2 separate regions of the Homo sapiens genome follow, and region 2 is linked to region 1. The links are contacts of gene promoters, found by promoter capture Hi-C in blood cells and fetal thymus (Javierre and others, 2016). All regions are on one chromosome and are shown on one strand. Each heading gives the region's core, a stretch centred on a gene start or on the middle of the fragment in contact. The rest is flanking DNA. Distances are from core to core; before and after follow the strand shown.

Region 1 (5,395 bases), core at 1-2,500:
GGGATTCAAGTGTGTTCAGAAAACATCCAAGAACTTTTGAAGGGCACCAGTAGGAAGAAATCGACACACAATTTCACAGATGCCACTCTGGGGACCAAATACTCCCATTTTGTTTTTCTTCTTTCTCTTTGAAGCTTCCCGGGCTACACCCCAAATGAAGCACCTCTTCATTGAGGATGTTCGAATCCTAAGTCCCCAAATCCCTGCTGATGGAGAGCCACCCGCTCCTACTTCAGGAGGCACGTGCACCTGAGCTTTGGAGGGGTCGGAACCCGTACCCAGCTCGACACTCTTCTTAACAACGCCCAAACCCGAGGGTTGCTTTGCTGACAACACTCATTTAATGTAAACACTGTGCAAAAGCAAAGCATTGCACAAATGAGAATTATTATGGCAAGTTTACGATATAGACGTACAATTGTTACCAAGAATGAACTGGACCACACAGCCCTCCCGACCAGAGCCCAGCTGAGGGACCAGACTATCCGCATCGGGAGAAACCAGCCCAGCGCGAGTTCGACGACAGGAGAGTGCTTGGGGGAGGGGCGGACGGTGTAAAATAATGGGTGTGTGTCGCAAAGGGGGTTACCACAGCCAAGGCAAAGAGACCCACACTGAGTGAGCCGCGTGGGCGGGGGGGACGGCGCGCGGTGGGGGGAGCGGCCGTGGGAGCCGCTCAGGAGACGGGTGGCCTCGGCGGCTCCGCTCCGGACTGTCGCCCGCTTCCCGGTCACCGCAGCGCCCGCAGCCCCCGCCGGGGGGCGCCTCACCTGGTAGCTGCCGGCGGCCTCCTGCAGCGGCGCCGTGCGGTGCGTCCTGTGCTCGGGGCCGGCGTCGCACACCCAGCACAGCGCCGCCTCGTCCTCCTCGCAGAAGCGGCTCAGGTCCTCGCCGTGCCGCGCGCATCGCCGCGCCCCGGGCCCCGCGCCCAACCCCAGCCGCCGCACGCTCTCCACCAGGCCCGCCAGCTGCCGGTTGGGGCGAAAGCCCGAGGGCCGGAAGGGGCCCCGGCACTGCGGACAGGCGTAGACGCCGCCCTGCGCGCCGTCCGACTTCTCGCAGAACTCGGAGATGCACCTGAGGCAGAAGCTGTGGCCGCAGTCCACGCTGACCGGCTCCTGCAGGAAATCCAGGCACACCGGGCACCGCGCATCCTCGCGCAGCCGCTCCCCGGGCGGCGCCCAGGCCATGACCCGCCTCCCGGAGGGCTGCGCTCCCGGCCGCCCGCACCGTCTCCCCTCGCGGTCTGCACAGGGGGAGGAGCCCACGCCCCAGGAAAGCAGGCGCCGACGGGTGGTGTCCGCTGGCTTCAGTTCAAGAGCTCAGACGAGCCACACCCGGTGAAAAGCCACCACTCAGGCGCTCCCTATGTCGGGGATAAAATTAACGTTGTGGTTCCCCGCCCCCGTCACACACACACCCAGGAAACTGGGCATTTCTAACTGGAATCCCTCCTCATATGCTATTTTCACTGGCAGTAGATCTGGAGAATTGCTAAATTCCCTCCTTCCTTCCATCTTTGTTTGTTTGTTTTTGTTTTTGTTTTTTTGAGAGGGAGTCTCGCTCTGTCGCCCAGGCTGGAGTGCGGTGGCGCGATCTCGGCTCACTGCAGCCTCCGCCTCCCGGGTTCAAGCGATTCTCCTGCCTCAGCCTCGCAAGCAGCAGGGATTACAGGCGCCCGCCACCATGCCCGGCTAATTTTTGTATTTTTAGTAGAGACGGGGTTTCACCATTTTGGTCAGCCTGGTCTTGAACTCGTGACCTCAGGTGATCTGCCCGCCTCGACCTCCCAGAGTGCTGGGATTACAGGCGCGAGCCACCGCGCCCAGCCTCCATCATCATTATATAGATTTAGTGCAGATTTCTGGGGTACCAGTGCAGTTTTGTTACATGGAGACACTGCATAAAGTCTAGGCTTTAGCGCAGGCATCGCTGTGATAGCGTAAATTGTTCTCATTAGGTGATCTCTCATCCCTCGCCCGCCTTCCACCCTCCGAGCCCCTTCCATTGTTACTGAGCTACTCCATGGTCCTCTCATGCCATAATCGTTTCTTAAAAGGCTTTCCCCCTTTATATGGCATAATCAATTTTTAAATGTTTTTTTCAAACTTCATTTTTTTCTCTTGCACTAATTACCTCTTGATAAAGAAATGAGACACCGCCTGACACGGGAAGATGCCTGCATAGGTGTGTGTAACTATAGGTTTACAGCCCAGCCAAAAATAATTCTAAATATTTAAATAAATATCTGGCCTAGTTCAATGAGGATCCTACAAGGAATACACACATGTTGTAGGATTGTTGCAAAGCCAGTCTTGGAGATGACAAAGCTATAGAGATACTCATCAGAGGAATAATTCAAGCTTAGCCTCTCAGTGGTGTACCTGTCAGATGGGGGAGGCTGAGACAGGAGCAAAATGATTTGACAGAGTATGTTACTTCATCCAGTGGAAGGCTGAATCAGGATAAAGTACATTAAAGTCTCTAATGTCGTCCAGAAAGTCGACAAGTCTGAGGCAGTGTCTGCATCTGTGCAAAATAACTTTAGTATGGTCGAGTTTGAAGTGATGGTGGGGTGTACCTGTGGCAAATCAATCTGTCCCTGAGCACACATTGTGTCTGTTTGTAGCCAGGAGTCTCAGACATTGCACCGGGTACTGAAAATACACATGTTAAGGAAAAGAGGTGGGACCCCATTTCTCCAGGAGCCTTAAGATCAACTAGAAGAGGTGGATATGAAATCATGCAAACATATAATTACAAACCAATAACTGCAAGGAAGGTCGCTCACCAGTCCTGCAGGAATATAACAGAGGACTCTGAATGAGGCTGCAGGGTCGGGGGCAGACACCTGAGGTCTCTGAGCAAACCTCTGATAGGTGAACACAAGCTGGCCAGCGGGAAGGGGGGCTCCGCAAGGCCGTGCCCCCAGAAGCCATGAAAGGTACAAGGTAAACTTCAGCAGGTGGGAGCAAGACATACCCAGATGACAGTGAGAAGCCAGGCAGGCTGGCAAGCTGGGCCAGAATATGGTGGCAGCAGATAAGGCTGCAGCAAGAGGCGGGGCCAGATGACTCAGGTCCTTGGGGATCCTCTGGGGTTTGTGGGTCTTCATTATAAGGACAAACTCTTGGGCTGGATCTCTGGCGACAGGCAGAGCAGAGGATCTTGAGGCCTAAAGGTTAAGTGCGCAATTAAAGCGAATAGATTCTTGGAGAACACACATGGATCTGTATTAGCAAAACACGAAAGATGTGGCATTAGAGAAAAAAGCTAAAGAGCAGAAGGCTTAGCAAAGAAAAACAGACTCTGGCTCCGGACTAAGGGCTGTGGCACTTGCTGAGAAGCTTGAGGCAAGCTGTGCCGCGTTTCTGCCCTGCATTTCTTCTGACGTGCAGTGAAGAGGTGTTAGTGTCATTCATATAAGGCCTTTCAGAGTATTAAACGAGCTAATAGATAGTAGACACTTAATATAGGTCCTGGCATGTTGGAAATACACACACACACACACACACACACACACACACACGTATATATATTGAGACAGGGTCTTGCTCTGCTGCCCAGGCTATAGTGTAGTGCCACAACCTGACTCACTGTAGCCTCTACCTTTCAGGCTCAAGTGATCTTCTCACCTCAGCCTCCCAAGTACCTGCGACTACAGGTGCCCGCCACCACGCCCAGCTAATTTTTGTATTTTTTGTAGAGACAGAGTTTCGCCCTGTTGCCCAGGCTGGTCTCAAACTCCTGGGTTCAAACAATCTCCCCACCTTGGCCTCCCAAAGTGCTGGGATTACAAGTGTGAGCCACCTCGCCCGGCCATGTAGCAAATATATTTAATTGAAGAAAAGGAAATGAAATAGTGAAGTGAATGGAAGGATGGTGAGTCAAAAGGTAAGCTACATTAGGAAGAGAGATTTTTTTCTATTTTGTTCACTGCTCTATCTATCCCCAGGACCTTGAAGAGTAACTGGCACAAATGGACACTCCACACATACTAACTGATTAAACAAGTTAATAAGTAAATGAACAGAATTAGGACAGTTTATCATAGGAGCTAATGAAAGAGGGAAGTTCAAAGATGATTATATTATGTCAAATGTCAAATCCATGTTTTTCTGCATTTTACATATATGATCTTGCCCTGGCTCTCCATAACTCTGGCAGATGCTGGAGCATTTTTCTATTTTGCAGGCATAACGAGACACAGTAAAACAATCCATTTACTCAAATATATGGGCCAGTTGATAACTAGGCTCACTTAAATTCAGATTTCCTAGTGCCTGTGATCCTAAGGAAAGGCCCCTGGCTTCTGACGTTGGGGGTCACTGTGGTTTTCAGTAGGGTGTGACGGAGTGGGCGAGCTCACTTCTTCCCCTGCTGGTCCTAGAGTTGCTGAGCTTAAACTGTTTTGTCTCTGACACTGGTTGACTAGGAATGACATCGGTACCATTGTTCTTAGAAACACACATTTCCCTTACAGCACGTCCATGCAGGTAAGTTGTGGACTGGATTATATCCAGATGTCATTGTATTTACAAATGCTATGTGGAGTGCCTCGCCAGGCAGTTTCTGGTTTAATGGGAATACTCTAACTTAAATTTGTATTTTCTCATGAGCTTTCTTTTGGCGTAAATAAAGCACCTCTTGGTTTATGCCAATACGACCAAATTCTAATGCACCCCACTCCTTAATTTATAGGCTAACTCCACCCTGTGACTCATTTACAGGTTGCAGAGTTGCAAATCTTTTAGCTAATACCACCTGCAACCATCCTCCTTCTCTAATATTCCTCTTCAGTTGTGTCCTGCCTTCTGTGACATCTTTAAAATATGGGATCTGCCGTCATCTGACCATTATTCCTCCCTGCTCTTTTTTGTAATTTCTTTGGTATCATGGCTTTGGGCTCCTGAAACCATTTCTTCAGGACAGCAATATTTTCTTCCCTACTTTGAACCCTTTTCACAGAGTTTCTCAGCTCTCCATGGCCAAACCCTTTGCCTCAGCTTTGGGGATTCACAATCTCCTAGCTCCATAGCCCCCAAATCAGCCCAATTTGTTACCAAAAACCAGGAGTTCGGTCTAGGTCCTGCTGCTCTCCACACAGAAAGCCAATCACTGAGACAACGATTATTGCCAAAGAAGAAGCTTTTAATCAGGTGCTGCAGCAGAGGAGATAGGAGCTCAGTTTCAAATCCATCTCCCTGACTGACTAAAATTAGAGGCTTATATAGAGGCAGGGAAGAAATAGCACACTGTGTGGAAAAAGAGGAACTAGGGAGGGGTAAGGAAGCAATCATGTTGAATAAGCGGACTGGACTGGCATCTCATTAACTGGTTGAGATGACCTGGGGTGATCCGGTAAGTTTCAGTTCTTTGTTACTTTACTTTTCAA
Region 2 (5,395 bases), core at 1-2,500, 290 kb after region 1:
CCCCATCACAGATTGAAGGAAAAGGTGAAAAAAACAGAATGTAGAAGTCATAAAACTGCAGAGGCCTATTATCTAAACATCTGACATGACATTGCCCCATCTTATAACTGAAGTTCTCAAGACTGAGTGAAAAAATCAAGAAAGAACATGTGTTCTGAGATAGCATCAATAGTATGTTCTTTCTGTAAATAAAGCACATTAATGTACTGAATAAGATGGATTTCAAAATTTGGTAATAAAATGTTCATAAATGTGCTATGTCAATGCAATATGATAAGCATAAAGAAAGAATGATTATAGCTGCAAATTTAAGATATAAATTTTATGTAACTATCACAGGAAAATCATACAATTCTTTAAAATGAACACTTGCTATAGAGATAGGTACAGAAATAACACGAGTAACTATTTCAAGTTACACACAAATATGCAGATTCATGTTGATTCCATCTGTGAATGCTGAAGCAATTTACATACGTGTGAATCTGAAATTGACTACCAATTTTTTTTTTTTTTTTAGACAGATTCTCGCTCTGTCGCCCAGACTGGAGTGCAATGGTGCTATCTCGGCTCACTGCAACCTCCGCCTCCTGGGTTCAAGCGATTCTCCTGCCTCAGCCTCCCAAGTAGCTGGGACTACAGGCACATGCCACCATGCCCAGCTAATTTTTGCATTTTTAGTAGAGACGGGGTTTCACCGTGTTAGCCAGGATGGTCTCAATCTCCTGACCTCGTGATCTGCCCACCTCGGCCTCCCAAAGTGCTGGGATTACAGGCATGAGCCACTGGGCCCAGCCGTCTGTTCACTCTTGTTAGTTATTTTTGCTGTGCAGAAATACTTTAGTTTAATTAGATCTCATTTGTCCATTTCTGCTTTTCTTACAATTGCTTTTGATGTCTAGATCATGAAATATTTGCTCATTCCTATGTTCTGAATGGTATTGCCTAGGTTGTTTTACAGGGTTTTTATAATTTTGGGTTTTACGTTTGGGTCTTTAATCCATCTTGAGTTAATTTTTGTATATGGCGTAAGGAAGGGGTCCAGTTTCTATCCTCTCCATATGGCTAGCCAGTTAACCCAGCACCACGGATTGAATAGGAAATCCATCCCCATTGCTTGTTAGTTAGCAACGTAGTATTCTTCATTTGAAATTTGCTAAGGGAATAGATCTCAAGTGCCCTTATGTCCCCACATTCATACAAGATGGTAGCTATGTATAGTGATGGATATATTAATTTGATGTAGTAATCATTACACAATGTATACATATATCAAATCATCACATTGCACACCTTGAATATAGGCCATTTTTATTTGTCAGTTATACCTCAATAAAGTTAGGGGTAAAAATAAACAGAGAGTTTCCTTTAGGTATACTTGTCCACAGGGGCTGAGCCCTGTTATTCATAACTGTCGATTTTGAGTAATTACATGATTACTATACCTAGATACTATGGCAAACAGAGCAAATTCTTTTTTTTTTTTTTTTTTAAGACAGGCTCTTGCTACATTGCTCAGGCTGGACTCTTAATTTCTGGCCTCAAGGAATCCTTCTACTTCAGCCTCCCAAGTAGCTGGGACTACAGGAGTGCACCACCAGCTTCTTTCAACTTCTTGAGAACAAAATAATACACTTTTTAGGGGCCGGGCATGGTGGCTCACGCCTGTAATCCCAGCACTTTCGGAGGCTGAGGCAGGTGGATCACGAGGTCAGGAGTTTGAAACCAGCCTGGCCAACATGGTGAAACCCTGTCTCTACTAAAAATACAAAGATTAGCTGGGTGTGGTGGTGTCTCCCTGTAATCCCTGCTACTCAGGAGGCTGAGGCAGGAAAATCACTTGAACCCGGAAGGCGGGGGGTTACAGTGAGCCGAGATTGTGACACTGCACTCCAGCCTGGGCGATAGGGTGGGACTCCATCTCAAAAAAAAAAATACACTTCTTATCGCCTGCTAATATTCAAAGGCCCTATTTTAGAACACCAATATACAAATTAAAAACAGTAGAATTTTGGTTAACTTCTTTCCACAGAAGTTTCTTAAATGTCACTCAAAAAATAATATACAAATATTACTTTAATACCAAGAATGATGTGATCAGTTTTATGAAAGAGTAAGAACTCCAAGCAGCCTCTTCTCCAATCTGTTATTACAATAGGCTCAAGAGTGTCTGCTAATTGGATGCTTAAATTTGCACTTCCCTACTATGAAAAATATTATACAGCCATGACTTACTTTTCTTATCTTGATCTTGAAGTTTTCTTTCAAATGTAGTCATTTCCTGCCTACAAGGAAAGAGATAGTAACATGAGATACTCCAGGTTCTCCAAAGCTGAAAATGCCTTTCAAAAAAAGCATTTGGTTGCCCTTAACCTAAGGCCATTGTTAGATTTTCCATGCAAATATTAAATACAATTAAAAGGCTGCTTACTCCAGCCTTTTTTGAAAAACCACAAAAATCTAGACAATGAAAAGTGGAAAACAAAGCTCCATATAGCATGAAGCTAAGAGAATTATTAGCTTATCAGACTACATATATTATTACACGCATGGAAAACATACATATAATATAATGAAATTTAGGACAATTCAAGAGAGAAAATGGAAAGTTTTGAAATTTATTTTTCTGCTATTCTTGATGAGGGTGTATAAATCCTTAAAGACAAATGAGAGGGTCTTACGAATTCTAACTAAAACCTTACAGTAATAGACATTAATAAGTGTGGTGGCCGGGTGGGATGGCTTATGCCTGTGATCCCAGCACTTTGGGAGGCCAAGGCGGGCAGATCACGAGGTTAGGAGATCGAGACCTTCCTGGCCAACACGGTGAGACCCCGTCTCTACTAAAATACAAAAAAAAAAAAAAAATGAGCTGGGTACGGTGGCATGCACTTGTAGTCCCAACTACTCGGGAGGCTGAGGCAGGGGAATTGCTTGAACCCGGGAGGCAGAGGTTGCAGCGAGCAGAGATCATTTCACTGCACTCCAGCCTGGTGACAGAGCGAGTCTCCATCTCAAAAATAAAAATAAAAATAAATTAAAAAAAAAATAAGTGTGGGCCAGTGATGAAAGAAATAGAGATTATTTTTAAAGGGACACAATTTACACAATAAAGAGGATTCAAAGGCGGTAGGGAGGAGATGGGGTTGCCAGCATATCACCTTTTATTTCTCTGTCAGTCAGACTCCTAAATTTAAGGGGAAATATGAAAAAAGGATATAACTTGTAATCAGCTGCCTGCCTCAAGGACAGCTAGGTACACAGTAGAGAGATGTGCCTGGGCTGAGGGAAAAACATTTTGTGAGGAAGCATTCTAAAACGACATGCCACAATCACTGCCTGGATTTTGCAACAGAGCAGAGACCCCTCTTGGAAGTCTGTCTGGCACTGCCAAGCAAGGAAATAAAGGAAAGTCGTGAGTTTCTTCGAGGGAAATTCCAGGCACCCAGCCAGCCCTGAGCAGTAAATAAGGAGCCTGGGAAGCAGGAGGAAACCTGGACCTCCACCACATGCATCCTCTGGCACACGGACCTCAGGCACGGGCGCGCTGAGGACTGAACTCCCAGCGCCATACTTTGTCTAAATTTCTTCCTGAGGAGCCTGAGAAAGTCATGCCCAGGAGCCAGACCTTAGCGTTCCTTACTCATGGCTCCATATTCTCAGACAAAGCTTTGCTTCCTTAAACAATTGCAAATCAAAGAATCTTTCATTCCACCTATGACCCGTAAGGCACCCTTCCCCCTCAGCTTCAAGGTATCTCAGCTTTTTAGGCCAAACAAACTATAATCTCCATGTATTTATTTACAATTTTGCCTGTAAATTCTGCTTTCCTGAAATTTACCCCTGCCTTTAAAAACCCTTGATTGTAAGCCATTGAAGAGGACAGGTCTTAAGCCTGAGGGATCCATTCTCCTTGCTTGGTGACCTGCAAATAGACGCCTCCTTGGTCCTGCTGCAACCCTCCGTGTGGATGTTTTTGGCTTTGCGGCGCCGGGTGAGCCGCCCTCAGTTTGGTTCAGTCACAGCCATAGCTTGTTTCTCGTCTGCACCCTCCTTAAACACACACGCATACACGCAATTTTATCTCACAAATGATCTACTTTCATTCAGAGTACTAAGCACAAAGTTACAAAGATGAAATGCGTAACAAAAGCAAAACAAAAGAAGCAGAAACAATATTTTAGAAGCAGAAAAATAACATGTTTATTATTGTTAATAGTTATTAACAATAATAAATGGAGAAGGAAAATGGACTGGCCTAAACCAGGAAAACAATTATAGAGAATAACATTTTTATATTAAATTAAAGCAACATTAATGGGAGAGGAAAGAATCAAGAGAAGTTAGCTAATGGGTACAAAAATATAGTTAGCTAGAACAAATAACTCCTAGTATTTGATAGCACAGTGAGGAAAATTATAGTTAATAATAATTTATTGTATATTTCAAAATAGCTGGAAGAAAAGAATTGTAATGTTCCCAAGACAAATAAAAGATTGGTGTTTGAGTAGATGGATATCACAAGTACTCTGATTTAATCATTACACATTGTATACATTTATCAAAATATCACATGTACCCCCCAAATATGTACAAGTATGCTCTATCAGTTTTAAAAGTAGGCCAGGTGTGGTGGCTCATGCCTGTAATCACAGCACTTTGGGAGGCAAAGGCAGATGGATCACTTGAGCCCAGAAGTTTGAGACCAGACTGGGCAACATGGCAAAACCCTGTCTGTACAAAAAAGTTGTATATTAGCCAGGCATGATGGTGTGCACCTGTAGTCTCAGCTACTTGGGAGGCTGAGGTGGGAGAATTGCTGGAACCCAGGAGGCGGAGGTTGCAGTGAGCCGAGATCACGCCATTGTACTCCAGCCCCAGTGACAACAGTGAGACTTGGTCTCAAAAAAATAAAAAATAAAAATAAAAAAAATCTAAACAAATGAAACAAAAGTAGAATGAGAGAAAAGTCATAAAATAAATACTTAAATCTGAAAACCGACTTCACAGGGGAAAAAACAAATGGCATGGAACACTGAGATATGGTGACTATAGTCAGTGACAACGTGTGCTTGAAATTCGCTAAAAGAGTGGATCTCAAGCATTCTCATCACACACAAAAATAATGGTAACTGTCTGAGATAATAAATATATTAAGTTGTTAATGTACTTATAGTGGTAATCACTTCACCGTATATACATATCAAAACATCATATTGTGTACCTTCAATATGTACAATTTTTGTTTTTCATTCATAGCTCAAGAAAGGTGAGAAAAAAAATTAAAATAAAGACATATGTATAAAAGAAAATAATACATGTTTGGGGGTGGGGGTAGGGAACAAATAATGAGTTTTCAAACTTTCATGGGGAAAATGTATGTAAAACCAAGTCA

What was found. Contacts are between HindIII fragments. The CHiCAGO score rates a contact against its expected background, and 5 or more counts as called.
Region 2: a contact is called between a fragment that was not itself captured here and the fragment with the promoter of TRIM58 in region 1, in 1 of 17 cell types (megakaryocytes). The highest score is 5.9, in megakaryocytes.

Annotation. Positions count from the first base shown.
Region 1 is chr1:247,853,042-247,858,436 of GRCh38, reverse strand. TRIM58 (tripartite motif containing 58) reads right to left here and starts at 1,250. Exons shown (of 6, transcript NM_015431.4): 1 at 771-1,250. The coding sequence starts at 1,190. RefSeq lists a cis regulatory region at 2,773-3,337. The HindIII fragment of the contact is 2,229 bases long and covers 137-2,365 here.
Region 2 is chr1:247,560,480-247,565,874 of GRCh38, reverse strand. GCSAML (germinal center associated signaling and motility like) reads right to left here. Exons shown (of 5, transcript NM_145278.5): 3 at 2,236-2,285. It overlaps LOC102724446 (a long non-coding RNA gene), which reads left to right. Exons shown (of 3, transcript NR_188589.1): 3 at 1-236. Among named protein-coding and RNA genes, the nearest start is that of GCSAML, 14 kb to the right of the region's middle. The HindIII fragment of the contact is 4,843 bases long and covers 1-3,671 here.